Regions from separate parts of the Homo sapiens genome. Here regions 2, 3 and 4 are each linked to region 1. The links are contacts of gene promoters, found by promoter capture Hi-C in blood cells and fetal thymus (Javierre and others, 2016). All regions are on one chromosome and are shown on one strand. Each heading gives the region's core, a stretch centred on a gene start or on the middle of the fragment in contact. The rest is flanking DNA. Distances are from core to core; before and after follow the strand shown.

Region 1 (6,836 bases), core at 2,974-5,473:
GGAAGGATTCATCCCCACAGGGAAAAAGGGACATTCCCACAGTGCCCTTTCTTAGCAAATGTGTGGCCGGTGGTTGCCCAGGGTCAGCCTGACTCCTGGGATGCAGGAGGGAAGCCATAATAACGAAGGCCTCTGGTTTCTGGCCAGAGGGGATCATGGTTGTGGCTTCAGTGACGTTCCCAGAAAATGGCCTCATGATCTCTGGGGCAGGAGTGAGGGAGGATGTGAAGCAGGGAAGCTGCCCCCTCTGAAAGCCATGTGTTCATCTATGAGAGAGAGAGGGGAGGAGGCTGTAGGATGGGAGCAGGGGCATGCATGGACAAGGGCTGTGGACTAGACCCCCAGGCTCTTCCCCCAAGCCTCTCTCCTGGGTCAGGCTGGTGCACTAAGGGATGAGACCCTCCAGTGGACATTGCTGCATCTCCAGGTACCTTCTTGGGTCATTCCTGATGGGTTGGACTGTGGGGTCTTTCAGGATCCTAGCTTCCTGTTCAGTTTCTTTCTTTCTGTCATGTCTTAAGTCTGGTGTCCCCTCAATTTAAGGGAATATGTCCCCGAGGCCTAGAAGAAGAGGGTCCCACCCCATCAGAACTGTCAAGCAGAGAAGCAGGTGTCAGGCCTTCCCATCCCAGGATGACAACATTCTGTTTTGCTGAGGTAGTGACCCAGAACATTCTGTCCTCAGCATCTGTGCACACACCCAGCCAGGTCTAGCTTGGTGCCTGGTGACCATCAGTCAGAGATGTGCCTAGAGCTGCAAGAATCAAGAGGCATTCCCACCCACCCTTCAGGACATTTTTTTTTTTTTTTCTGAGATGGAGTTTTGCTCTTGCTGCCCAGGCTGGAGTGCAATGGTGTGATTTTGGCTCACCGCAACCTCCGCCTCCCAGTTTCAAGTGATTCTCCTGCCTCAGCCTCCCAAGTAGCTGGGATTACAGGCATGTAATCCTGTAATGGCACCACCATGCCCAGCTAATTTTGTATTTTTAGTAAAGACGAGGTTTCTCCACGTTGGTTAGGCTGGTCTCGAACTCCCGATCTCGGGTGATCCACCCGCCTCGGCCTCCTAAAGTGCTGGGATTACAGGCGTGAGCCACTGCGCCCGGCCCCCTTCAGGACATTTAAACTAGCGCCCTGTGGCTGCCACAAACCAGCTGGCTTGAGTCCTAGACCGCCGGTCTTGGGAAGAGGAGTATTCATCTTAGCTGCTACTAAACACCACAGTAGTAGTTAACCGCTATACAGTGCTTTACAGTGAAGCACTTTACATGTAGTAAACACTTATTTCCCGCAACCCGATGAGGTAGGTACTGTCTCTATCACCACATTACAAACGAGAAGATAGAGGAAAACACACTCAAGATTACCCAGCTCAAGGAATTGACAGAGTCTGGTTTGAGAACCTGTACTTTTTTTTTTTTTTCTTTTTTTGAGACAGGTCTCACTCTGTCGCCCAGGCTGGAGAGCAGTGGCACAATCATGGCTCACTACAGCTTCAGGCTGGGCACAGTGGCTCACAAATGTAATTCCAGCACTTTGGGAGGCTGAGGAGGGAGGGTTGCTTGAGCCATAAGTTCTTGAACAGCCCAGGCAATATAATGAGACCCTGTCTTTACAAATATTTTTTTTTTTTTGAGATGGAGTCTCACTCTGTCGCCCCAGGCTGGAGTGCAGTTTCGTGATCTCGGCTCACTGCAACCTCTGCCTCTCGGGTTCAAGCAATTCTCCTGCCTCAGCCTCCCCAGTAGCTGGGACTACAGGCGCGCACCACCACGTCCAGCTAATTTTTGTATTTTTAGTAGAGACAGGGTTTCAACATATTGGCCAGGCTGGTCTGGAACACCTGACCTCGTGATCCACCGACCTTGGCTTCCCAAAGTGCTGGGACTACAGGCGTGAGCCACCGTGCCCGGCCTACAAATAATTTTAAAAAATTAATCTGGGAGTAGTGGTGCACGTCTGTGGTCCCAGTTACTCATAAGGCTGAGGCAGGAGGATTGCTTGAGCCCAGGAGGTTGCCTTGAGCTGTGATTGTGCCACCACACCATGAGACCTTTTTCTGTGAGACTGTCTCCAAAAAATAAAAATAAAAAAAAATCATCACACCCTTGACCTCCCAGGCTCAAGTGATCCTCCCACCTTAGCCTCCTCAGTAGCTGGGACCACAGGTGTGTGTCGCCACACCGGGCTAGACCCTGTCCTCTTAATGACTGCATAGTCCTTGTAACCTCCATTTGCATTCCTAGAGCATAGCATTTGTTCCAAAAATATTTATTGAGTGTCTGTTCTGGGCTTGAACACGAGTAGGAGGATTTAAAAGTGAATAGCATATTGCGTCTGCCCTTGGGGACAGAGACAGAAACATGAAAACATGAAATTGTCCTTCAACACAAGAAGTGCTGTAATAGAGGCATGAATAACGCGGTGGGAAACAAGGAGGGAGGTCATGCTGCCTGAAGCAAATGTCACCGAAGGGCAGACATCAAGAAGGCAGGACATTCCAGGCAGAGGGAATAGCATGTGTGCAGGGATGAAAGCTCACAAGAAAGAGAAACATGAGTCAGGTGCGGTGGCTGATGCCTGTAATCCCAGCACTTTGGGAGGCTGAGGCGGGCAGATTACGAGGTCAGGAGTTCGAGACCAGCCTGGCCAACATGGTGAAACCCCGTCTCTACTACAAAAATACAAAAATTAGCCGGATGTGGTGGTGTGCGCCTGTAATCCCAGCTACTCAGGAGGCTGAGGAAGGAGAATCACTTGAACCCAGGAGGTGGAGGTTGCCGTGAGCTGAGACCGCACCATTTCACTCCAGCCTGGGCAACAGAGAGAGACTCCGTCTCAAAAAAAAAAAAAAAGAAAAGAAAAAGAAAAGATAAAAGAGAAATATGGAGAACATGGAGCACCTGAGTGTCAAAACATCATGGGCAGTAACTGTCAGGGAGATTGCCAGAGAGCTCGGGGTTGGTTGGCGCATCCATCCTGCTTCCTGCTTCCTTCTCTGGCCTCCAAGCTCCCTGAACCTACTCTGTGCAAAGCACTGTGCCAGGTGTTGGCCCAGAGTATGGGACTGCAGCAGTGGCCTGGGTAGCGGAGAAGGGTTTTTTGACCAGCTGGAGACCTTTGTGGCTGGTGTCATTCTGGAGGTGAAGAGAAGGCCGCTGGAAAGAGCTGCCCAGGGAGGACTATGGGAGAACTTGCAGCTCTGGGCCATCTCTGGACATGAACGTTTTGCATACACACAGGGGAGCTCTGTGTGTCTGAGTGGGGGCGGGAGGGGTCCTTCTCTCTCTTTTGGCCCCTGCAGCTTGGCTTCTGGAGCTTTCCTATGTCTTGCTTTAGTGCTAGCCCTTGGAGGGTTGCCAGGGAAACCGCTGGCCAGCTCCGGGAGATAGACGTAGCAGAGGAAAGGAGAGTGGGTGACTCAGCCTGGCTTCCCACAACCGCAACCCCCTCCTCAGCACGTGGAAAGGATCTGGGGGACCCCCTTCCCCTGGATCCTACAGATGACCCTGTTTATTCTTTCTTCTCTAGAGAGAGCAGTCCCTCCCGCAGCTCTGACTGGTGGGAGCCAGCCAGATTTTCCCAGGAAGGGAACCGGCCCCAGGCGCCCCGTCCCCCGTAGGTTCACCCTGGAACTCGGACAGGTGAATTCGGCCTGGGCGAATGTGAATTCCTGCCGTGCCCATGCAGGCGGCAGGAGCCCTGGCTGAGACGCCCTCCCGGGGGCAAACCCAGGATAATTATTGATCGGGGCCCCTGTGGACTTCTGACCTCGGCCTCGGCGGGAGAGGACCCGGAACGCGGGCCTGGGCTCCCAGGGAGAGAGGTGGGCGGGCCGCGGAGGGGGCCAACCAAAACGACCACGACAGTGCGCCCTAGCCCTGCTAGTGGTGGTCGACCCAACCCAAACAAAGCAGCATGTGCTTGCGGTGCGGCGTCGGCTAGGGAGCCGAGCCGGGAAGACACCCCACCGCCGCAGAAAGGGGGTGCGCGCGGCGCCGGCACCGGCACCGCCGAGCGCGCCGCCACCTCGGGTGTGCCGAGGGGGTCCGGGTCCTTCAAGGGCGGTCGCGGAGGGGGCGCGAGGGACAGCGGGCTAGCGAGCGCGCGCCGGGCGGAACCAGGAAGCGGGGCGCGCTCCGGGTTGCCAGCGGCGCGCGTCCCTGGGCCTCCGCGCGTGAGCGGCGCGCGCGCCCCCGCGGGCCCCGGCGGGAGGAGAGTCGGCGGCCGGAGCCGTCACCCCGGGCGGGGACCCAGCGCAGGCAACTCCGCGCGGCGGCCCGGCCGAGGGAGGGAGCGAGCGGGCGGGCGGGCAAGCCAGACAGCTGGGCCGGAGCAGCCGCGGGCGCCCGAGGGGCCGAGCGAGGTAGGAGCTGCGGGGCGAGCCCTGGGCCCGGGGCCGGGGGAGCCAGGCCGGGGAGCCAGCCCGGGCGGGGCCCGCGCTCCAGCCGCTCAGCCGCCCGTCAGGGCCGCGCCGCCGCCATCACTCCCGGGCCGCGGTGGTTGCGCGCTGGGCGAGGGGCGCGCGCGGGGAGAGGGGGTCCGGGTTGGCTGCCGGGGAGGCTGAGGGCAATGCGGGGTGCGCGAGGGGGACTTGCGAACGCCGCGGCGCCGCGGGGGGCGTGCGCTTTAAAGGCTGCGTGCGCGTGTGCTGAGTGGGTGTGTGGGGACCCCGCGCCGACCCCATAGGAGCTCAGGGGGCTGCTGTCAGCCGCCTCACACCTTCACGTTGCAATTCCGAATATCCCCAGCCGTCTTCCTTGCTTTAACTTCTTTCTTTCAAAAGAGGTTCCCGGGACTCCGGGGATGGGATGAGCCTGCGGGGGTGCCTGGTGCGGTGGGGGGTATTAGCAAAGCTTCAAGAAACAGGGCCTTATAAGGAATCAAGACAACAAATACGAACGTTTCGATAAGACTCTGGGGGGCGGGATCCCACATCAGGACCCGCCAGGCCTGGGCTCGTGCGTGTGGCCGTGGGATGCAGTGTGCTTTTTCTTTCTAGTCAGGGATAAAGGGTTAAAAGTGCTCCTGGTGTCGGGGGGTAGATATGGAGAGTCGGAAGGGGAGTTGTATCACAAAAGCTGGTCTGAGGCTAAAGGAATCTGGCAAGATGGTCGGGGTGAACAAAGAGGAAAGAACTCACACGGAGCAAGAGGCGGTTGCAAACACTTGTAGCCAGCAGTGATGGAAAAGCCAAAGAAGAAAACCAAGTGTCAGCTTTTAGAAAGACGGGATTAATGAAAAGCACAAGAATTTTAAAGACTAAAAGAGATACCGATTCTCTCTTTGCCAAAGAGCCAGAGTCAGTTCTTTTCTTCTTGGTCCCTGTGATCCCGCCATACCTCGTATCAAATAAATAGTGCCAAAAGTGGGTCAAAGAATGTTAGAGCTGGAAAGGAACCCAGCGATGATGCCATTCTTTTATTGTACAAATGAGGAAACTGAGGCCCAGATAGGTGGAGTAAGTGGCCTGCTCAGGTGACACGGCTGTTTGTTGAGTATCCAGGGATTGAAACTTCAAGGACTCTGAGATTCGTGCTCTTCCCAAAGCATCGTGCAGTATACAGATCTTTGCCTAGATACAATTCCATACATTTTCTCTGCAGTGTCCTCAGGGAATGCCCTTTGAAAGGGCCAGCGTGACACTGAATATCATACTTGGGCTTATGTCATTTTTTTCAGTCTTCAAGTGGTGTTTATGGTCTGCTTGGATCTTAGGTTTCCAAAGCTGTTGGATAGCCGCCTGGGCCATAATAAGCTTTCAGCTGTTGGGTCTACATTATTTCAAATAATTTTGTTATCTTTCAATTAAGGTAATAGAACTGTGCCTCTCTCCCCAACATTCTATTGTTGTCCATTTGCTTATGTTATATTGCGTTATGTTCATTGCCTGTGAGTTCCTAGGTGAGGATGTATTTTATTGAGTGTGCCTTTCATGTTTTAAAATTTCATTTTGTAACACTGTAAATATTGGAGTGGTTCTGATCACTTCAAATGGGGAGAATCTTATTGATTGATTTTATTTTAAGGCTTTGGGTTGTTTTGTTTATTCATTTGGGTACCAGTTTCCATCTCATGGAAGATCACAGTTGTTAGAATGGACATGGCTAAATAAGAGAAGGGGCTGCTGATTTTAAGAAAAACTTCCTATGTGACAATTTGTGGTATCTGTTACGTTTAATTCAAACAAGTCCACACCTTGGGTCAGGTAAGCGCGTTATCTAGGAGATGACTTGTTTGCTACTGTAGCCTCTGGAAGATGAAATTTCAAGCTCCAGATTGAGACACAGGGAAGGAATGGAGAGGTTTTTTTTTTTTTTTTTTTTTTTTTTGTAAAGCAAACCATCAGAAAAAAAAAGTTGATTTCTATCACCAGTAGTTTGGTTATTGCATAACTTGAAGCTAAACTCTGCACAAAATAATCTTTGCTATATACCCAACTAGGTAAACTATCCCACCTTCTCATCAGTTCTCACCTTTTCGGTGCTTGTATTTTTTGCCCACGGGATATTAATATGGATTGTGTTCAGAAATTTAAGGTGTGTACTTCATAGTATGTATGATTGTAGGAGAAAAATGTGCTATCATCGTTTGGAGTGTTACAACATAAATATTTTGGTCAACACTTCCTATCCTGCTCTGACTTTTCATCTCATCTCCATTTTCTTCCTCTCTTGATTGTTTTTATGTCATTTACATATGTAAAAGCCACATCAAGACTAAAGTTGCCATTTATTACTTTTTGATACTTAAGTCGAGTTTTTTCAAATCATAGTATTGTTAGTATTCAAATTGTCTGTAATTTTTGTTAGGCTTATATATTATGAATCCATTTG
Region 2 (6,836 bases), core at 2,078-4,577, 240 kb before region 1:
GTTACCAGTGTCCCCTTCTAGGGAAGAATCTGTATTACTCCCCCCACTACTCCTGCTAGAAACTACGGTGGCAGATGCAGGGAACTCAAAGTCTAGATGTGAATGGCATGGGTGCTCCTTCCATCTACAATGCACGGGGAAGATGAAAGGGCTTTGGGATGGCGTGGGAATGCAGACTGGCTCACCACCAGGAGGTGGGAAGGGCTGTCTGGATGGATGGAGGCTAAGAGGGCAAGGCTGGTGCCCAGTGAGTATGAGTGACAGCCAGAAAATCACTACACTACACACAAAGCTAGGGGTGGTGGGAGACCCAAGGAGGACTATTCTATCTAAATGACTCACAGACAGGGTGACACGAATGAGCTGGTGCCCACAGATCACAACCAACAGGCAGAGAGGCACAGCTGATCACTGTGGAGGGAGGCGGGGAGGGTAGCATGGGGCACACGGCCCTCACAGGGACTCACTCTTCAAACTTCCCTTCCCGAATATGCTCGAAGGAGAAGGGTAAGAACTTGAAACCGGTCCCGCTGTAGAATTTATTCTGGAACTCAACCCTGGAGAAAGAGAAGAAGAAAGCTGTCATTCAATAGAAACTTTGTGAAGCTTTTTAGGACTTCACAGTTGGGCAGGAAAGATGCCCCGTGCCCACCTCACCCCGAGCCTCCCTTCCCTGGGGAAGCTAGAGAAAGCCCAGAGTGCAGAGATCCCACTTTTAAGGCCTGGGATCAAGAGTTCGACGCACGGAGGAAGGGATTTGCCCTCAGTTCCCAATCTTGCTCTGTCCTGCCGAGCAGTGTGTTTATGCACAACTCTCTGCAGAGAGGCATGTGCAAAAAAAGTTCAGTTACCTTGAGCCTAACATCGTTAATGAACAAGTGGCCCCCATCGCCCCCTCCTGGCAGGGGATCACACAGCCCACCTCTAAGGGAAGCCCCTCCAGAGACACTGGGCAAGCACCTCTGTTTGCTTGTTATTTTTCCTTGGGGGAGCAAAAGGGCGAGCTTGGAGTGAATGTTGAAGGCTTTCCATTTAAGGAAGGAAATTCCAAGGAAAGAGGGGGAGTTAGGAGGGGAAGTCTTCTCAAAGCAATGGCAAAAATATTCTCCAACCACAAAAACATCTGAGAAAGAATTCTTCTCTTGGGGACTAAAAAGAAAAAGCCTGAGCTCCCTTCCCAGCAGTTCAGCATCCATGCCTGATGGTCTCTGTGGGGCCCTTTCACTCTCAGGGAGGGTGGGAGGAAGACTGTCCCATAAGCAGAGCGAGGCTGCTTGGCTGTGCTTCCTCCTGCAAACTCACCCTGGACAGCTGCCCAGCAACCAAACCACACCAAATAAGGGCAGAAAAATGCATGATTCAGGGGATAAAAAGGCCAAGGAGAGCTGCCCTGAGGAATAGTTTCCACATGGTGCTGTGTGACCCTGGAGGCACCGGAGCCCCTATAAGAACAGGCAGGCGTGGGGGCTGGGGCAGGCTCCAGGTGACAGGTCACGTGCAGGGTGAGGGCTTTGAGGCGCTTTAAAGCTTCAGGAACCCTCTAGTTCCCTAACTCAGCTTTTACAAATGGAGATTCCTCCCTCCAAGCCAAGAAGGCAGGAATTAAGAGAACAGGGGCTGGGAGGTGGCTGGGGCCCAAAGGTTACAGACTGTTTGCCAGTGGCACTGGGAGTTCCTCAGAGGCCCCTTCACTGGGGTGCAGGCTGAGGAGCACCCCCTTGAAGAAGAGCGCAACCGAATTTTCTGAGTGGGAGTAAAAGCAGTCAGCTTTCTTCCCCACATCCCCACATTCCACAGGGGTGGGCCAAGGTCCTCCAGGAAAAACAGGACTCAGGAGGGGGAGGACACAGAGCTTCCAACTGACGTTAGCTGACGGTTCCCACCAGAGCAATTCCAAACCAGGACCTGGATTCACCCACGTCCCAACACCCCACCAAAACTACTTCTCCAAGTTCCAGCTACTGAGACCACCTCTGAGGGAACGCGGTGGGGCCTAGCAGTGGGTTCCTGCTTCTCACCCACTTGTGTTAGGTTTGAATTCTTCATGTTGAATAGACTGTGTTCCCATGTGGCAAGGGTTATTTCAGAACAGCTGAAACGAGATTTACATGTCCCCTTTTCATTCAACAATACATAGCCAGAGAGTGGACAAGTCACCTGAGGGTCCCAGGCCATTACCTAGGAGTGAATGTCAGCCTTGGTAGGGTATGCTGACCCCCGACTCCAGTGAGGTGTCCAGAACTCTGACCCCCACCCCCTCCTGGCTAATCACAAAACCATTCTAATCTTCAAACTGGGCAAATGGAGCAGCAGCTTTGTTTTCAGATGCCTGTGGGGGCACCGCCCTTTTCTTGGCACCCCTCCAGTCACCTTATCTACCCATGGGGGCCCAGCAAGGAGGAAGAGGGATATATGCCTGGGAGGGGCACATCAATTGTACTGTGTGAGCAGACAGGTGGCCTCCCTGACATACTGCCCAATACTGCCCCTCCCACCAGCTGCTGCTTTAGAGACTTAGAGCGGCCAGAACTGGGACATCTTGGGTCTATCTTGAGGTCAGCCTGATTTCACCTCCTTCCGTGGCCACCCTCACCCCAACCACCCAGCACAAAGCTGGAAAGCAATTTCCCTGCTAGTCTCCCCACTCTCTCCCGCTGAACTGGGGAAATGTGTGCTTCCTGAGAAAGTACAAACATGAAGTTCCCCAGGGCAAGGGGGGCCCCATCTGCCATCCTAGGTTCTTCCTTCTTTTTGGGCATCTCCACTGCTCTGCTCAGGGAGCCTCCAAAGTCTTGCCATGCCCCAAGACACTGAAATGCACCTCTAGAATTCAACAGCTGTGAGGAGAGCCTCAGGACGCCAGATGAGTGTCTCTATCATCTCTTCCAGCTCCAGCACTTGGCAAAGGCCACCTGGTGACTCAGAGGGATTAACTGGGGCCAAAAGACATCATTCATGCCACGTAACAGGAACTCTGTTTCCTCGAGTGGGTGAAGGAGGAAGGAGTCTTGGGGCCGCTTCCCTTCCCTGGTGGGGGTTGTGACTGAGGGCAGGCAGTCTGGAAAGACAATTCTGGGCTGAGCTGTTTATGTAGCCTGTTCTGCCACTCTCTGTGCCGTTCAGGGCCTACAACACACATCTGTCTGACGGCCTGAATATCAGGGCAATGATGGCAGCCTGGAACTACATTTCAAGAGTTCTGAGTTCTCCTGGGCAGCCATTCCCTCAACTGCTCCATGCTGTCATGCCGTGGCAACACTGCATTCCTAACAAGAAGCTGGTCCCCGATTCTGTCCCTTTAATCACCACCCAATCTGTGAGTGTACAGGTAGGTGTACATCTATGTGTATGTGGAATTCGCTAGGTAAGGAGAGACCAGGTTCCTTGGAAGGTATGCCCTGGGGCAATAGTTCTGCATAAAAATCAGTTTGATGTTTACAGTGATAACTACAATCAAATCCCTGTCTCATGCCTTCTCTGAGGAAGAAAAGATGTCTAATTATGGTAGGTAAGAAGCCAAGCACACTTCATGTGGCAGGAGGGAGGAAAAGAGAGAAAACTCAGGAGACAGAATTAGCAGATTAATACATTAGCCTGCTCACTGTTTTCAAACACATCACCCCCCTTCCTATGATGCTGCATGAATCTCACACTAGTGGTTTATATGTTATCGAATCAAATGTTTTTCTTATTGTCCCCACTGAGGAGACCAGAACTTGTATAATGGGGCAGCCCTTGAATCAGGAAACAGCAGGGATAAAGTGGGAGGTATGAAGATGCCTAGGATGGATGCCAGGAAGAACAGCAGCACCATCCCTACAGCTGGTTCAGCAGCCCCAGAGGCTCCACCCCTGGTAAGAGGGCCACAGCTCAGAACGCCTCCTGCAGTCCTGGGCCACAGGGAAGATCCAGGCATCCTGGACGCACAGCCGCATTTTGCCAGGAGGGGGCGCACAAGCACCAATTTCATTCACTTCTGTTTTAGTGGTGGGGGAGGCGCCCCACTCGTGTCACGGGAACAGCCCTCCAAAGACGAGATTCTGGAAGTTGCACAAAGGAGGTTTGCACTGTTTTTTCCTCTCCTACCCAATACTCCTATTGCCAAAATAAATACGACATATATGGGGAGGCTGTTCCTTGCAAACAGCACCTGAGGGCATTCTGATGGTATCCTCTGCCTCCTCTGGGGTCTTCTCTCACTCTAGACAGGCTAAAAGCAGTCTTTTTATGGGGGACCCCAGGCAGACACCCTCTCTCTAGGGCATCCCAGGTTTTTTTGTTGTTGTTGTTGTTGTTGTTGTTTTGAGACGGAGTCTCGGTCTGTCGCCCAGGTTGCAGTGCAGTGGCGCGATCTTGGCTCACTGCAACCTCCATCTCCTGGGTTCAAGCGATTCTCTTGCCTCAGCCTCCCGAGTAGCTGGGATTACAGGCGCCCACCATCACGCCCAGCTAATGTTTGCATTTTTAGTAGAGATGGGGTTTCACCATGTTGTCCAGGCTGGTCTCGAACTCCTGACCTCAGGTGATCTGCCTGCCTCAGCCTCCCAGAATGCTGGGATTATAGGTGTGAGCCATCGCACCCAGTAAGGGCATCCCACTTTTAAGCAGAGCAGCCACTACCCATCCTAGAGCACCTGCTTTTGCTGTGGCAGCACTTGGTGTGTGCATTACTTCCTACTTGCTCACAGTAATCTTGGCAGTGAATGTTCTGCTCAGGTTCCCTGCCTGGTGTGACAGTGCTGGAATTCCAACCCAGGTCGCCCAATTCCGGAGCCTGCTGTCCTGCCACTCATCACTTCAGTTCAGGGGGACCTGGGAAGACACGGGGAGGCCACAGGTGAGCCTGAGGAGGAAGCAATCTTCTGGCAACAAAATGAGGCTCAAGCCCAGGCGGCCTTGCTCTGCAACAGTGCCTTGCTCCCGCCCTGCCCAGGGAGATGACCGGCTACCCACGTGGGCTGGAATCAAGGTGAGGTGGTCACTGTTCCCTCAAACCCAGGGCTCAAGAGACAGGAGTGAAAAGAAAAGAAAGGAGGCCAAGGGGCAAGAAAAAGTGAGTCCTCAGAGGTTCTCGTGCACTGAGGAGGGCTGAGGAAGTGTGCTTGCGGGGGTCGGCTGATAAGCTTAGAACAGGGAGGCCAGCCAGATGAGCTGGGTGGGGAGGAGGGAGGCCAGGAGGGAGAGAGCCAGGCCAGAGGAAGCCAGGTCTACTGACGCAGCAGGGCTTTTGAAGAAGAGTGCACCCTAGCCACGTCTTGCCCTTCCATGCCTCACTCTCCGCCCATCATTCAGAAAAACCCACAGCTGAATCTTTGAGGAGGCTCAGGGGTCACCCAGCCATGAGAATAATCAAAGATAAAGGGGAGTGGGGAATGAGTTTCTCAGGTTCAGATGCTGGATTTTCTTCAGGTTTTGAGAACGAAGAGAGACATTCATAGTCCTCTTCTGGCCTTGAGATCATGAACACCACAGAGCATCCCATCCAGGGGCCTCTAAGGCACACCAGTGAGTCAGACCCCTATGCTTGTAAAACAGGAGAAGTGTGTGAGTGCTCCTCTGGGGAGAGGGGCCAGAACTTCCAGAGACATTGGGGTTTTGAGACCCCCAAAAAGAGAATCACAACATAAAGGAGAAAATAGAGACCCAAAGAAGTGGAGTCTGAGGTGGAACAGCCACAGAAAATACAGACTGCCCCAGTTTTTAGTATAAGCATATCCCATGCACATTTGGGAAATACTCATACTAAAAAAATTATTTGTTGTTTATGTGAAATACACCCTGTATTTTTATTTTTTGAGACCGAGTTTCACTCTTGTTGCCCAGGCTGGAGTACAATGGCGCGATCTTGGCTCAATGCAACCTCCACTTCCTGGGTTCAAGCGATTCTCCTGCCTCAGCCTCCCAAGTAGCTGAGATTCCAGGCATGCACCACCATGCCCGGCTAATGTTTTTGTATTTTTAGTAGAGACAGCGTTTCTCCATGTTGGTCAGGCTGGTCTCGAACTCCCCACCTCAGGTGATCCACCCGCCTCGGCCTCCCAAAGTGCTGGGATTACAGGAGTGAACCACCGTGCCTGGCCCCCAACCCCTCCCCTATTTTTTTTTTTTTTTTTTTGAGACAGAGTCTCGCTCTGTTGCCCAGGCTGGAGTGCAGTGGCACAATCTCAGCTCACTGCAACCCCTGCCTCCTGGGTTTAAGAGATTCTTTCCTGCCTCAGCCTCCTGAGTAGCTGGGATTACAGGCACGTGCCACCACACCTGGCTAATTTTTGTATATTTAGTAGAGACGGGGTTTTACCATGTTGGCCAGGCTGGTCTCGAATTCCTGACCTCAGGTGATTCACCTGCCTTAGCCTCCCAAAGTGCTAGGATTACAGGCATGAGCCACCGTGCCCAGCCAAACTGTACTTTTATGTGCTACATCTGGCAACGCTGGTTTGAGGTGGTCACAGCCCAGACCACACCCCCGCTCTCCCAGTCCCAGAGGCTGAACTCATGCTCTCTCCACACACAGCCATTAAGAGTCACAAGCTTCATTAAAGAAAACAAACAGAACCACCCCAAACCTGCCCATGTGAAGAAGCTGCGTGAGTGTACCGACCTCCACCCTATAGAGCCAGGAATCCCTCCGGTCCACAATGGAGCTGCCAGGGGTCCAACTCAAAGACCCCTGGCACAATGACAGAACAAAGAGGATAAAGCTGGGGTGCAGCGTGTTCTAGCCTTTCCTGCACTTAACATACATTCCAGAGCTGCTTCCACTGTTCTGAAGACAGAAGAGTTACACATCAGAGAGAAAACCAGAAACCCTAAGACCCCAGCAGCCCCTTTAAGCC
Region 3 (6,836 bases), core at 1,196-3,695, 200 kb before region 1:
TCCTCTTAGCACTGTTTAGACTTATTTACCAATTCAGCTTTAAATCTTATATTGCCTGAATGATGAAAGTATAGGAGAGAAAAGAGAAGGAAGCCATTTCTGCCTGTTCTGGGACTTAGAAATTCTTAGATAAAAGGGGCTGAATAACTACAAGGAACTGAGTCCCTGGAAAGAATGCTGATATAGAATCTCACAATTCAAGCTAATCTGGACTTTATGGGGCAGGGAGGAAGGTAATCCATTCCAAATACCAAATTTATACCTGAAGTATGATGCAAGGACTGGAAGGAAAGATCAGAAAAAAAGGTGTATGGTGTGTTAACCAGGATTGTCTCAGGTTGCCTGTATTTTCTCATAGTCATACACAGCATGTAGAGCTTTTATAATAACAAACAAAACTTTAGAAGGATAAAAGGGGATGAGGAGTGAAGAAAATTGGGCTCAAGGGTCTGAAATCCCTAAATTCTGTAGGCTAAACTAGAACCCATTCTTTGTGCAGCCTGCTCTGTTACAGATATCCAGGGTCCCCATTTCTGGATTTGTTGATAAAATAACCTTTCTGTTGCCAAGAGGAAACTTGACTGAATATTCCTGAGAAAAGTTCCTCATTAATGTGACTACAAATTACAACGTTTCCACAACCTGATGGCCTTTGGCAAGATTGTGAAACTACACCCCTAGGCAGGGGGTTCACCTGAAGTGTAACCACACTCCTCCACGGCATGGAGGATGAAAGACCTGCAGCTGCACAGCCCACCCAATCTGAGAAATCTCACAATTCAATCTCTCTCTTTTTAGGTAAAGAACACGAATTTAAGAAATTCACAAGATAATTTAGAACAGAAAAGCTAACTTTAGGTTTCTAAATAATACTAGTACAAAAGCAAAGCAAAATTTTTGCAGTACATTTATCTTCACTGGTACTCCCTGAAATCAGGACTCACCATACCTAAATGCAGGTTTAGACGATAAACTCTGTCCCATTATGGCAAATGCCAGGATGTTAAACTGTTTCTACTTCCTGAAGTACTGGGTGGGGAAGATCATCCTATTTTGTGCGATATCTATTCTTAAACTAAGTTTCTAATCCTTCCAACAAACAAACAAAAAAACTTTACCAAGTAAAATTTCATCAGCTTATTAAGATCACAGTCTAGGAAATCTCTCCTTCTCTTTTTATACATGAATATTACCAAACTTGGGGCTGGGCATGGTGGCTTATGCCTATAATCCCAACACTTTGGGAGGCCGAGGCAGGCAGATCACTTGAGATCAGAAGTTCAAGACCAGCCTAGGCAACATGGTAAAACACTGTCTGTACTGAAAATACAGAAAAAATTAGCCAGGCATCATGGCACATGCCTGTAATCCCCAGCTACTCGGGAGGCTGAGGCAGGAGAATCGCTTGAACCCAGGAAGCGGAGGTTGTGGTGAGCCGAGATCGCGCCACTGCACTCTAGCCTGGACAACAGAGTGAGACTCCACCTCAAAAAAAAAAAAATTACCAAATTTGGAACCAGATGTCTTGCTTTAAAGTTAATTTTCATAAAAGGCAAATGAGTGAAAATAAAAATTTCCAATCAGAATAACATCTACACGGGTAAACTTGAAAATATGTATATGTCATGTATACATCATACATCCATATGTATATATGACAGGAATTAACTAAGAGGAAGTACTTCAAATTCTCCAATTAGAGCAGAGATAAAGATAATGGCTCCTCTGTGGAAGCACTGGATTCAGGTGGCCCCATGCTACGTTACTGCTCTGGGCTCCCTTTACAAGACCTACTCCACAGGATGCAATCTCCTTGTCTTACAGTCACAGGATCCTCCAGGGGGTTCTCGATTTCAGCCTGTCGCAGGAACACATTTCCCCGGCATACCCGCCAAAGCATGCGCTCAAAAGTAGGGATGCGCTCCCGGTTAATGACACCAGCCACGAAGCTGTGGGGAGAAGAGGCAGATTGGAAACTCTATTCCATGTCATGGGATGGAAGGTTTTAATACAAGTCTTTTTTATTTATATTTATATATATATCTTTTTTTATTATACTTTAAGTTCTAGGGTACATGTGCACAACGTGCAGGTTCATTACATATGTATACATGTGCCATGTTGGTGTGCTGCACCCATTAACTCGTCATTTACATTAGGTATATCTCCTAATGCTCTCCCTCCCCCCTCCCCCCACCCCACAACAGGCCCCGGTGTGTGATGTTCCCCTTCCTGTGTCCAAGTGTTCTCATTGTTCAATTTCCACCTATGAGTGAGAACATGTGGTGTTTGGTTTTTTGTCCTTGTGATAGTTTGCTGAGAATGATGGTTTCCAGCTTCATCCATGTCCCTACAAAGGACAGGAACTCATCATTTTTTATGGCTACATAGTATTCCATTGTGTATATGTGCCACACTTTCTTAATCCAGTCTATCATTGATGGACATTTGGGTTGGTTTAATACAAGTCTTATTCCCAGCTTCACTTATGGACCCAGCAGAGAGCTGACAGAGCAACTCAGGCATGAATCCAGAGTTGTAGGACTATCTCAATAGGCTCAGAAGAGGGCATATCCTGGTAGCAAGTGAATCCCCAGTCTCACTGCTCTTCTGAACAGAAGAGATGAACATGGCCCCACTGAATACCGAAAAGTTGACATGGCACTTACCCAAGTCTTAAAGGAGTGCCTCTTCCCATCTCACTTGGCTCCAAGAGGGATGAGGACTCTTCCAACAAGTCTGGATCCGCCATCTGCTGATGATGCAATTCAGCCTGAATTCACAAATCAATTAATATCTAATGAAAATAGTTAGTGGCATGCAGGCAACGAGGAACCAGGAGACAGGTTCAGAAAATAAGGATGAAAAAGAAAACAAACCACGAAAAGACAAGATATATCCATAAAAAGACAAGAAGAATAGGGGATGAAAACACAGAAAATAAATTTGAGGTAAAGAAAGCATAATTGCCCCAGTAAAGCATCTGGGGAAATGGTTTTAGAAATAAGGAGCAAAAGGAAAAAAAATTAAGTGATGGTGACATGTATAAATCTGTTACTTGGTGGAAGCCATTTTCTCTCCTACGTTTCCCTGAATGAATGATGAAAGTGCCAGGAAATACCTCTGCATGTAGATAGGAAGCTAAAATATCTCTTCTTTCTGTGCAATAATGAAGAGACTCTGCAGATACTCTGAACATTTAATTTCTAGGCAGCTACAAACTAGAATTTTCCCTACGTGAGAATGTGAAAGATAGAGGCTCTCTTTCCAAGGAAGAAGCAAGGCACTGCCACTGTCTTTGAATGCTGTGAAGTCTGGAGAAAGACAGAAGGGGAAGCTCCAGGTATCTACGTTTCCAGCCCCTTTAAAATTCAGAATATGAGAACTTTCAGCATGGCCACTTATAGAATGATCCAAGCCATGGGATTTAAAGAGTATTTATGTCTTCAAAAGGATAAGAAGCACAATAGCTGGGCAGGCCTGTAAAAACATATCTGAATGTCCCATTTTCTGACTAGGAATCTTCTAAATAAGTTCACATAGGCTTTACAGTTGTAGGATTCTTGAGAACACAGCTCAAGAATCAAGTAAAGTGAAGGAAAAACAACAGATAATAAACCAAACTAGAGTTCATGGGCTGGTTTAATTGGTAAGATTTAAAATGACTTCCACCATGACAGTTTATACAATGAAATGAAGAAGGATCTTCCCACACGCAGGTCTACATTTCCTAGCCTCTCTCTACCGAACTCATCCTACCACCCTTTACTCCCATCAGAAAGGAGAAGCTGCTCCAAAAAACAAAACAAAACAAAACAAAACAAAAACCAGTCCAATCAACTTCTCCATTGCCTCATCTCCCCAACTCTAATACCCAGGCAATACTTGTTTGACCAAAAACTAGGAGTAAACCAGAACAATCATCCTCTTCAAAAGCACAATAAGACAAAAAATCAGAAGAGTTTTTCTCTATCATTTTCATTCCAAATTTCAATTTGATTCTACCCCTGTCAGCCACACTCTTAAAAAGTGGCACAGGGACCATAACTTGATAAAGTCATGGGATCATAAACATAGCAAAAAGGGGGAAAAACTGTGTATAAACCAGATGATAAGTCTGAAGGCCTAAAAAATAGAAAGCAATCATTTTGGGAAGTAAGGATCAACACCAGAAGTGCAGAGAAATACTGTCATGAGATTGGAAAAGTTTAAGATGAGATCATGGAGACACTAGTTACCACTGGCTGTTACATGTAAGTTGAGGGGGTTCTTTCGGTTTCTACTTGCAATCAAATCAGCTGACTACAAGCAACTTGTTTTCAGGATCCCGATGATTACAACATTTCAACTTGTTCTTGGTTTATCCCTTGGCAAAAACCAGTGAGCCTGACTACTCACAAGACTCCATCCTACTTGCCTGCCTGTCTCACAAGACGTGGTTTAAGTCAACCCTAAATATCGGACTCAATGCAAACACATGTGCTCTAACTGATGGAAAAGCAAACAGTACTTAGCAACTAGACCACTTCAAAGACTCTATCTAGGACTCTCTGAGAATAAAAAACAACAAAATTAAAATTCAACAGAAACTTGCGATAATATTTGAATTGCTAATTTCACCACTTCATACTTAAGAATTCTATCTTAGAGAGAAAAGTTACAAATTTTTAAGTAAAATTGTGCCTGGTGAGAAACTAGGATGACTAGAACCACTCACTAACTGAAGGCCTTTAAAGCAGTATCTAAAACCATGTGGTTGAAAGTATCTAAATCTTAGAGCAGGGGTGTCTGATCTTTTGGCTTCCCTGGGCCACATTGGAAGAAGAACTGTCTTGGGCCACACATAAAATACACTATAATGATAACTAATGAGCTAAAAAAAAAAATTCCAAAAAAATCTCATAATGTTTTGAGAAAGTTTACGAATTTGTGTTGGGCCACATTCAAAGCTGTCCTGAGGCCTGAAGGCCATGGGCTGGACAAGCTTGTCTTAAGGGTATCTGGGTTCTCTAATAACAACATTGTGAATATGCCTCTACATTACTGCTATGCCCTCTGGTTTCTCCATTCAGATACTGAAAACCACGCCTTACAAAAAGGAAGTAGAAGAACTTCAGTTCTGTTTCTACAGCAATTAAGTATAAATAGCACATCCAGTTCAAGCTATGTCAATTACCAAGAACAAACAATTACTGCCATCTACATCGAGAAAAAAATTATATTTCATTACTTAAGGTATTCACCTAGGCCCCAAAGGAAATGGCAGATGGGAAAAAAATAAAGAAAGCAGATGGATGGAAAACTGAGAAGGAAAGGAAAGCAGGGAATCTGCATGCCATTAACCATTACTTTTCCAGTCTTCTTTATGTTCTCATATGTTATGGTGCTTATGGTAAAAGATGCAGAGAAATCTCTCCAGCTCTTACAGTTCTTCATAAGCAAGAAGACTTAGAAAAGGATAATCATTAACAAGTCATTTTAAATGCCCTAGATAAGAAATGACTAAGTCAAATTTGTAATCATCTTTAATCATAAGACTATTCAATATGTTTATTTTTCACCTTACACACACCCTGCCAATCATAACTCCTATGCCTAAATATAGAATCATTTTCTGATTTAGCCATTTCTGCTAACTCATTACTGTGAATTATTGATTATAGTCACCAAATTACACAAAATAAGGGGTTTAAAACTGGTAGTGTTTTAGGCCCTTTGCAAATATTATAATTTCAGACACAGAAGAAAATCTCATTAAAAATCCTAAGTTTCCAACATTTGAGGGTCCCAAGTGTCCTATCTTTCGCATTATTTGAAGTGCACGCGCATGTGCAGATGCAAAGTTGTGGCAGTGACACCTGAGCCTGCTGCTACGCAGCAGCAGGGCAAGGTCTATGGAAAGGAACCTGGCTGAGGCTGTGAGCTAGTGCAAGAACAGGCAAGGCAGAGAGGTTCTTGCCAGGAGACTTGCAATGCAGTGAGACTGCTGGGAATGGAAGGGGAATTGATGACAAAAGCAGCATAAGAACCTCTCATAGCCACGGTCTTGTGCTCTAAGTACTTCCAGAGACTGGAAAAAAAAAAAAAGTTTTGAATAAAATAGGAGGGGGAGGCTGGGTGCGGTGGCTCACACCTGTAATTCCAGCACTTTGGGAGGCTGAGGCAGCTAGATCACGAGGTCAGAGTTCGAGACCAGCCTGGCCAATATGGTGAAACGCCCGTCTCTACTAAAACTACAAAAATTAGCTGGGCATGGTGGTACACACCTATAGTCACAGCTGCTCGGGAGGCTGAGGCAGGAGAATCGCTTGAACCCGGGAGGCGGCAGTTGCAGTGAGCCAAGATCGCACCACTGCACTCCAGCCTGGATGACAAAGCGAGACTCTGTCTCAAAAAAAAAAAAAATAGGAGAGGGAAAACAACCCCAGCATGAAAAGGGCACAAAGATCATGAAGACTTAGAGTCTGCCTTCTCAAAACAGGCATTTAGTGTTTAGACTTATTATTCACAAAATAAAAGTCCTAAATCCATAAATTATGATTTTAAAATATCATTTTTCCAAGTGGTTCCTCTTATTTTCATTTTTACTAAGTTCTTTTCATTAGAAAATTAATAGTTTAAATAATTATTTCCCTTAAGGGAATCCATCTATCAGTCTTTATTCGGAATTTCTCCAAAAATGAACCATAATAGGAAGCTGGCTCTCATTCTTAAACTTACGAGGTCTTGAAAGACATTTTCATATGAGATAGCAATATCTCAGCAGTAAACTAAACAGTATATCAAAAGGGAAAAAAATGGGGACAGGGAAGGTAAAAGAATTAAGCTCCAAATAA
Region 4 (6,836 bases), core at 1,396-3,895, 180 kb before region 1:
GATTATAGGCGTGAGCCACTGTACCCAGGCTAGATTGTCCATATTCTTTAGATAGCTTCTCCAAGTGCCCAGTATAATATTCCAAAATAATGAATATTCAGTATATGCTTATTTATATACTATATATCTGTAGCTGGATACCTCAAATTTTATTTTTTTTAAAATGTCCTACTATATGGAAAAACTGCAATATATTTTTTTAAATACCTTGCTATTTAGCAAGTGAAAGCCTTGATCAGGTTAGTTTGGTAACCTCTCCCTGCATCCCAAACAATTACCTGGAGAATGCTTAGGACTGTTCTGAAAGTGGGAGCTAGCAAAAGCATGTAAAGATTGGCACAAAACATTCTCACCTTTAGAAAGACAACTCAAAATGTGCATTCTGCCAATAGGAAGTCAGTGCTATAATGTTATTTTTGCAAATAAAAAACAAAACATTCATCATAAGGCATCTGACCACGATAGCAATAGAGTTCAGCAGTAATCAAGTCGCAGCCCCACAACTACTTACGTCACGAAACTGAACCTTTCCAAGTTCTCCTAATTCACTGACACAACAATAAGCAGCCTCTGACTGTAGAAAAAGCTGGGCCAGTGTCATTTCTTCACTCCGGAAAAGCTCCCCCATGGTGGCAGAAGGTACCAGTCTAGTGAGTACCTGGATTTCTCTCCAACCTGAAGCAAAGAGAAAATGACATAACTTTGGAAATTACCACGAGGGCTAAGAGCAAATGACACCCCACTACGGCTCTTGCATTTACATTTCTAACACCCCATGAGGACAGGTCAACAACTGTTTTTGACACCCTGTCTAGAAAGATGGAAAGGAGAAATTGCAAAGGCAGTTCCTGAATTCTGTCCCACAGAGTGTCAGATGAAAAGTCACTTCCATTCCAGTCAACATCAGGATCAAATGACAATTATTTTGGGCAACTCAACTGATAAGAATGTATCCAGATTAAAGACAGGAACTGGGAACCTCAAACAACTCTTTAAATACCCAGGACACAATATTGAGGCAGTGAGTTTCACACTGCTCAATCTGTTTTTGCTAGTGCAGGAAACAAACAGAAGAGGCCTTCAATACCCTCTCATAAAGATGTCTGCCTTGTAACTATCCTTCTCCCTTCTACTGACAATGCGCATTTCTAAAAGCCCAAAGTTCTGGCACTATCCTAAAGCTATGGCTACACTAAAGGGTTTAATCTTCCAGATTCCTCAGAAAACAATATTTCCCCACTTAGGAATTCAAACAAATAACCGTCATCTGGAAAAAGCAACCAGTTTGCATATTAAGCTCAATTTCAAATCAAGCATGACAGGAACACACTGATAATGACAAAGCAGTTTTATCAAGCCACAGAGAATAAGCCTTCCACCTCTGCAGCTTTCTGTTTCTCAACCCTACCTTCAAGATTAATTACATTCTTCCATCTGTCAAATCTCATGAGCCAATAAAGGTTTCGTTTTAGTGCTGTCTTACTGTTGCCGGGTATGAGACAACTGGCGCTATCAGTGGTCCTGAAACTGCAATTATTTATTCTCGATCAGCTAATGTAAGGCACAGCCTGTCCAGTATCCAAACTCAGAAAAATGCACAGTATTTTTAGTGTCATAAGGGCATCTATACTGAGTACTGATAGATGAGTCTGACATCAAAGGAAGATTTACTCTTCTGGAAGGCTGGGAGACATTTTGAGAAATCTGAACGAACAAACCTTTGTGCATGTGATGTTCAAGACAGTAACACAAGCTCAGACATAAGCAAGGACTTCTCAAGAGAATATGCAGGCTGACTTTAAGATTCTGTACATCTGAATCATCCAAATCAGCTGTTACCGGCACCACCCTTAAACAAAGAGAGATTCTACAACCTCTAAACACATAAAATTAGGCCTGGTCAGCATAGTTCAGGAGCTGTGGATAATGATAAGCCTCCAACGAGTCGCCTCCGTCCTCCTGCTCTTTAATGATTATAGGTCTCCCAAGAATATCTCTATAGCAATGGAGGCTAACAGAAAACTAATTAGGCCAAAGTAGTTCTGGACGATCACAAAACAAAATATGAAGAAACAGCAATTCTGCAAAAGATGAGTCCAACTACAGCGCCCCCGCGCCCTGCCTAGAAGAATCTCACTCCTGTCATCCGGTCCTCGCCTCCTCCCACGGTATTCACCTGCTTCATTTCCTGTCTACCCAATGAGCAGGAATTCTCTGGACTCAGGCTCATCTACCTTGAGATGGGAAAAAAGGAGAGGAAAACCCCCAAACTGAGAAACCCTTTAAGAAGCCCCCTAAATTCTTCTGCCTATCCAATAACCTCCGGTTCCTCCGCCTACCCCTTAAAGCAGGGAAGAGATGCGGGGCTTCCAAAGGGCAGTGAGCCTCCGGTTCCTCAGGGCAGAGGAGGGGTGCCCAAGGAGGGGGCGAACCCCCATTTTATCTCGAAGACGTCAGATCCCCGCTAATTCCTCTGACAATCAAGGGGGCTCTTAGAAGGATTTCCTACGTCCATCGAGGGCCGCTCCCTGTTGCGCTAAACCTACAGCCCCCACTCACCTCCAAACTCCGCCACAGCAACCGCCACAGAAACCACCGCAGCCAAACCCGCACCCTCCGCGGCTCCAGGAGCAGCGCTTCGACGTGCTTGCGTCCGTAAAGCCCCGCCCCTGCGCCGCCGCCGGCCCCCGCCCCCGCAATGACCTCATTGCAGTTGGCCAATGGGGCGCAGCCTCGCCCGGGCTGCAGCAGTGCGGAGTCACGGGGGTCGCAGGCGAGACCCAGCGTGCTGACGCCATGTTGGCCCCTGTGCTGTATCTCCACGCTGGGGAGGGTTAGCGGGTGGGGCTGGAGGTGCAGGTGCTCGAGGCCTTAAGTTCCTGAGCCTCCCTGAATCCTTTTTCTTACCCCTTATACTGGGGTAGGTTGTCTTTTCTCTTTCTTTTTTTTTTTTTGAAGTCTCATTCTGTTGCTCAAGCAGGAGTGCAGTGGCGTGATCTCGGCCCACTGCAACCTCCACCTCCCGGGTTCAAGCGATTCTCCTGCCTCAGCCTCCCAAGTAGCTGGGACTACAGGCACGCACCACCATGCCCGGCTAATTTTTGTATTTTTTTTTTTTTTAAGTAGAGACGGGGTTTCACTATGTTGGCCAGGCTGAGTCTCGAATTCTGACCTCGTGATCCACCCGCCTCGGCCTCCCAAAGTGTTGGGATTACAAGCGTGAGCCACCACGCCCGGCCTTTTTTTTTTTTTTTTTTTTTTTTTTTTAGATGGTCTGTTTCCCAGGCGGGAATGCAGTGGCGCGTTCTCGGCTCACTGCAGCCTCCGCCTCCCGGGTTCAGGGGATTCTCCTGCCTCAGCCTCCCTAGTAGCTGAGATTACAGGCACGCACCACGCCACCCGGCTATTTTTGTATTTTTTGTAGAGATGGGGTTTCGCCATGTTGCCCAGACTGGTCCTGGCCTCCACCCGCCTCGGCCTCCCAAAGTGCTGGGATTACAGGTGTGAGCCACCGCGCCCGGCCCTCTCTTTATTTTCATATCCAAAGAATTAATTCACACATACGCACCCAAATAATTAATGTCTTCTCTCTTTATTTTCATATCCAAAGAATTCACACACACACTCAAATAATTAATACGCAGACACATATACCACCCTTTCTCTTTTCCCTTATTTTACAGATGAGAACATTTGAGCCCCAGACTGGGGAGCGGCTAGCTTTAGATCCTGTAGTAGAGTCTTTAACGGGGTCTCATTTGCATAAGTATGGAAAACCTCTCTTTAAATGGTACATGGTTCATGCCTTCCAGCAACTTCCCCGGGTCTATTTTTCTCTGTTTAACAGGAAAAACCTCATCAGACCATATGTTGTGAAAGTACATTTCAGTCTTGTTTGGTAGATTCATGTGGGCTCAATTGACCACTTAGGAGTTTTCAATTCCTCAAATTTATTTTAAAAACATTTTTTATGGCTTGTACTCAACTTGTAAATTAAATATTGAAAAACATTTTTTAAACGCAAAAGTGATGTCTATTATTTTTTAAATGCCATTATCAAATATTGATATTGATTCCCTTTTCTTGCCCTTTTAAAGAAGAGTAGGGATCTCAAGTCGTTTGTGATAACCAGAATTGTATCAGGAAAAACTCAGAAAACCGGTTATTCTGTCTTCCTGGGTGGTGGAACCCTGTTGAAATTCAAGTGTAATGAGGGAGATATTCCAGATAAAAACTTGTTGCTGATAATTTTGTCAACCTGACAAAAACATCATCAAACCTGCTTTACCAGCCTAAACAAAATAAGGGGACAAAAATGGACGTTTTATTTGAATTTATTGTCTCATATTGTGAGTGAAGATATAACCTGACTTCAATACAACCTTCTTAAGACACAGAGTCTTGGAGAGACCCATACCCTCCTTCTCCCTGCTCCCTAGCTCTCAACCCTTCTGGCAAGACAGATCGGGACCCACATTTAAAAGCCTGCCAAGTTAGAGAAAACTGTTACACAATATCATTTCCTTCCTCTGAGACTTAAAAAAAAATTAACCTCAGTCAGCTGCTTGCTAACCACAAATTTTTCATACTCCACTTTTAAGACAGCCTTTCCTGTGGACTTACTTCAATTCCCTTGAACTCTTTTCACGGCTTCTTTGAAAGAATATTGTTTCAGAACTCCTTTTCTGTTTGCTTCCATCTCCTGCCATCAATCTTTCCTCAGTGTTCTATTTATTTTCCCTCCATGCTGTCTTCCTTGATGGTCTTGAGTGTTGTCAAGCTTAAACGTTTATGTGTAGGACTCTTATCTGTTTTTCCACCTGACTTCCTTCTTCAAGACTCAGAAATGGAATTTCATACTGCCTGCTTGATAGTGCCTTTTAGGCAGCAGATGCTTGCTGAGGGCCTACTGTGTGCCAGAGAGGGGTACTAGGTGCTGGGGATAGAAAATGAAACAGACATGCTTCTTATCCTTGGAGAGCTCATGGTTCAGTGAGAAAGAAACTTCCCAAATGGCAAGAGAGAGAGGAGTGCAGTGATTAATACTTACTATGTGCCAGGCACTTTTCTACATGCTTGGTAAATACAAACTCATTTAATCCTCACAACAACATTAGGAGGCAGTTACTATTATTATCCCCATATAACAGATGATATGGTAAAACTGAGGCATATGTCCAATAAGATCAAATTTAAAATGCTGTTGACCACACCTACAGCCCTAGAAGACATGAGCAATTCCATATGAGGCTTGGCCAGTGACACAGTTCCGAGTATCTAAACCGAGCTATTCCCTAGCATTTGTGAAAATGGCTAAAAAACAATTAAAGCCAGGTGTGGTGGCTCACGCCTGTAATCCCAGCACTTTGGAAGGCTGAGGCGGGTGGATTACCTGAGGTCGGGAGTTTGAGACCAGCCTGGCCAACATGGTGAAAACTCATCTCTACTAAAAATACAAAAAATTAGCTGGGGATGGTGGTGCATGCCTATAATCCCAGCTACTCAGGAGGCTAAGGCAGGAGAACCACTTGAACCCAGGAGGCGGTGGTTGCAGTGGCCAAGATCGCGCCATTGCCCTCCAACCTGGGCAATAAGAGCAAAACTGAGTCTGAAAAAAAAAAAAACAGTTATAAAGATTAGTTCTTCACTACCACAAAAAGAATAGAACAGAGGTAGGGATCTAACTGATAGAGTCTCAAAATGTTACAAGAATTGTCACTGTAGTGAAATTATTAAATGTGGTTTTTTATCTTTAATTTTTAGTTTGAATGAATGCGTGTCAATTGTCCAAATTTCCACCAGTGAAGAATCAGCTAGCTCATCTTAGCTTATCCCACTTAGATTCCTAGATGGGGCCTAGAGGAGAGTTTTAACGTTAAGCCCGGTGTTTTGAAATACGTATCTGCTCCAGTGTCTTCTCCACAGGCTTCCAGTATTCGTTTCCCTAAGGCTGCCATACAAATAACCACAACCTGGGTAGCATTTAAAACAACAGAAATCAGGTCAGCCGAGGTGGCTCACGCCTGTAATCCTAGCACTTTGGGAGACCGAGGCCAGCCTGTCACCTGAGGTCAGGAGTTCGAGACTAGCCTGGCCAACATGGGGAAACCCCATCTCTACTAAAAATACAAAAATTAGCAAGACATGGTGGTGGGCGCCTGTAGTCTCAGCTACTTGGGAGGCTGAGGCAGGAGAATCACTTGAACCCAGGGGGCAGAGGCTACAGTGAGCCAAGTTTGCGCCACCTCACTCCAGCTTGGATGAAAAAGCAAAACTGTGTCTCAAAAAAACAAAAAACAACAGAAATCGGCCATGCACGGTGGCTCACTCCTGTTATCCCAGCACTTTGGGAGGCCAAGGCAGAAGGATGGCTTGAGCCCAGGAGTTTGAGACCAGCCTGGACAACACAGCAAGACCCACGTCTGTAAAAAAAAAAAAAAAAAAAAATTAGCTGGGCATGGTGGCACGTGCCTGTAGACCCAGCTACTCAGGAGGCTGAAGTGGGAGGATGGCTTGAGCCTGAGCCAGGGAGGTTGATGCTGCTGCAGGGAGCCGTGATTGAGCCACTGCATTTCAGCCTGGGTGACACAGTGAGGCCCTGTCTCAAAAAAACAAAAACACCGAAATTTATTCTCTCACAGCGGAGGCTAGAAGTCTGAAATTAAGGTGTCTGCAGAGCATGGTATCTCCAAAGGCTCTGGGAAAGAATCCTTTCTTCCCTCTTCCTGGCTTCTGGTGGTTGCCAGAAATCCTTGGTGTTCCTTGGCTTATAGATGCATCATTTCAATTGTTGCCTCCATCGTCACATGGTATTCTTTCTTCTATATGTCTTTTTT

What was found. The method cuts DNA at HindIII sites, captures the fragments that hold promoters and counts their contacts. A CHiCAGO score of 5 or more calls a contact.
Region 2: a contact is called between a fragment that was not itself captured here and the fragment with the promoter of STAT5B in region 1, in 3 of 17 cell types (megakaryocytes, erythroblasts and fetal thymus). The highest score is 6.9, in megakaryocytes.
Region 3: a fragment that was not itself captured here is called in contact with the fragment with the promoter of STAT5B in region 1 in 1 of 17 cell types (fetal thymus); the score reaches 5.5 in fetal thymus.
Region 4: the fragment with the promoter of ATP6V0A1 here is called in contact with the fragment with the promoter of STAT5B in region 1 in 2 of 17 cell types (neutrophils and fetal thymus); the score reaches 9.1 in neutrophils.

Annotation. Positions count from the first base shown.
Region 1 is chr17:42,273,778-42,280,613 of GRCh38, reverse strand. STAT5B (signal transducer and activator of transcription 5B) reads left to right here and starts at 4,223. Exons shown (of 19, transcript NM_012448.4): 1 at 4,223-4,366. RefSeq lists a silencer at 3,981-4,590. The HindIII fragment of the contact is 9,010 bases long and covers 1-4,858 here.
Region 2 is chr17:42,514,748-42,521,583 of GRCh38, reverse strand. ATP6V0A1 (ATPase H+ transporting V0 subunit a1) reads right to left here. Exons shown (of 22, transcript NM_001130021.3): 22 at 1-557. The coding sequence ends at 464. Among named protein-coding and RNA genes, the nearest start is that of MIR5010, 4.0 kb to the right of the region's middle. RefSeq lists a silencer at 3,985-4,034 and an enhancer at 4,478-4,977. The HindIII fragment of the contact is 3,596 bases long and covers 1,530-5,125 here.
Region 3 is chr17:42,473,576-42,480,411 of GRCh38, reverse strand. It overlaps ATP6V0A1 (ATPase H+ transporting V0 subunit a1), which reads right to left. Exons shown (of 22, transcript NM_001130021.3): 6 at 2,670-2,752; 7 at 1,823-1,949. Among named protein-coding and RNA genes, the nearest start is that of MIR548AT, 18 kb to the left of the region's middle. The HindIII fragment of the contact is 5,083 bases long and covers 1-4,986 here.
Region 4 is chr17:42,454,687-42,461,522 of GRCh38, reverse strand. It overlaps ATP6V0A1 (ATPase H+ transporting V0 subunit a1), which reads right to left and starts at 2,645. Exons shown (of 22, transcript NM_001130021.3): 1 at 2,560-2,645; 2 at 512-675. The coding sequence starts at 628. RefSeq lists a silencer at 2,576-2,785 and an enhancer at 2,936-3,025. The HindIII fragment of the contact is 8,228 bases long and covers 1-4,782 here.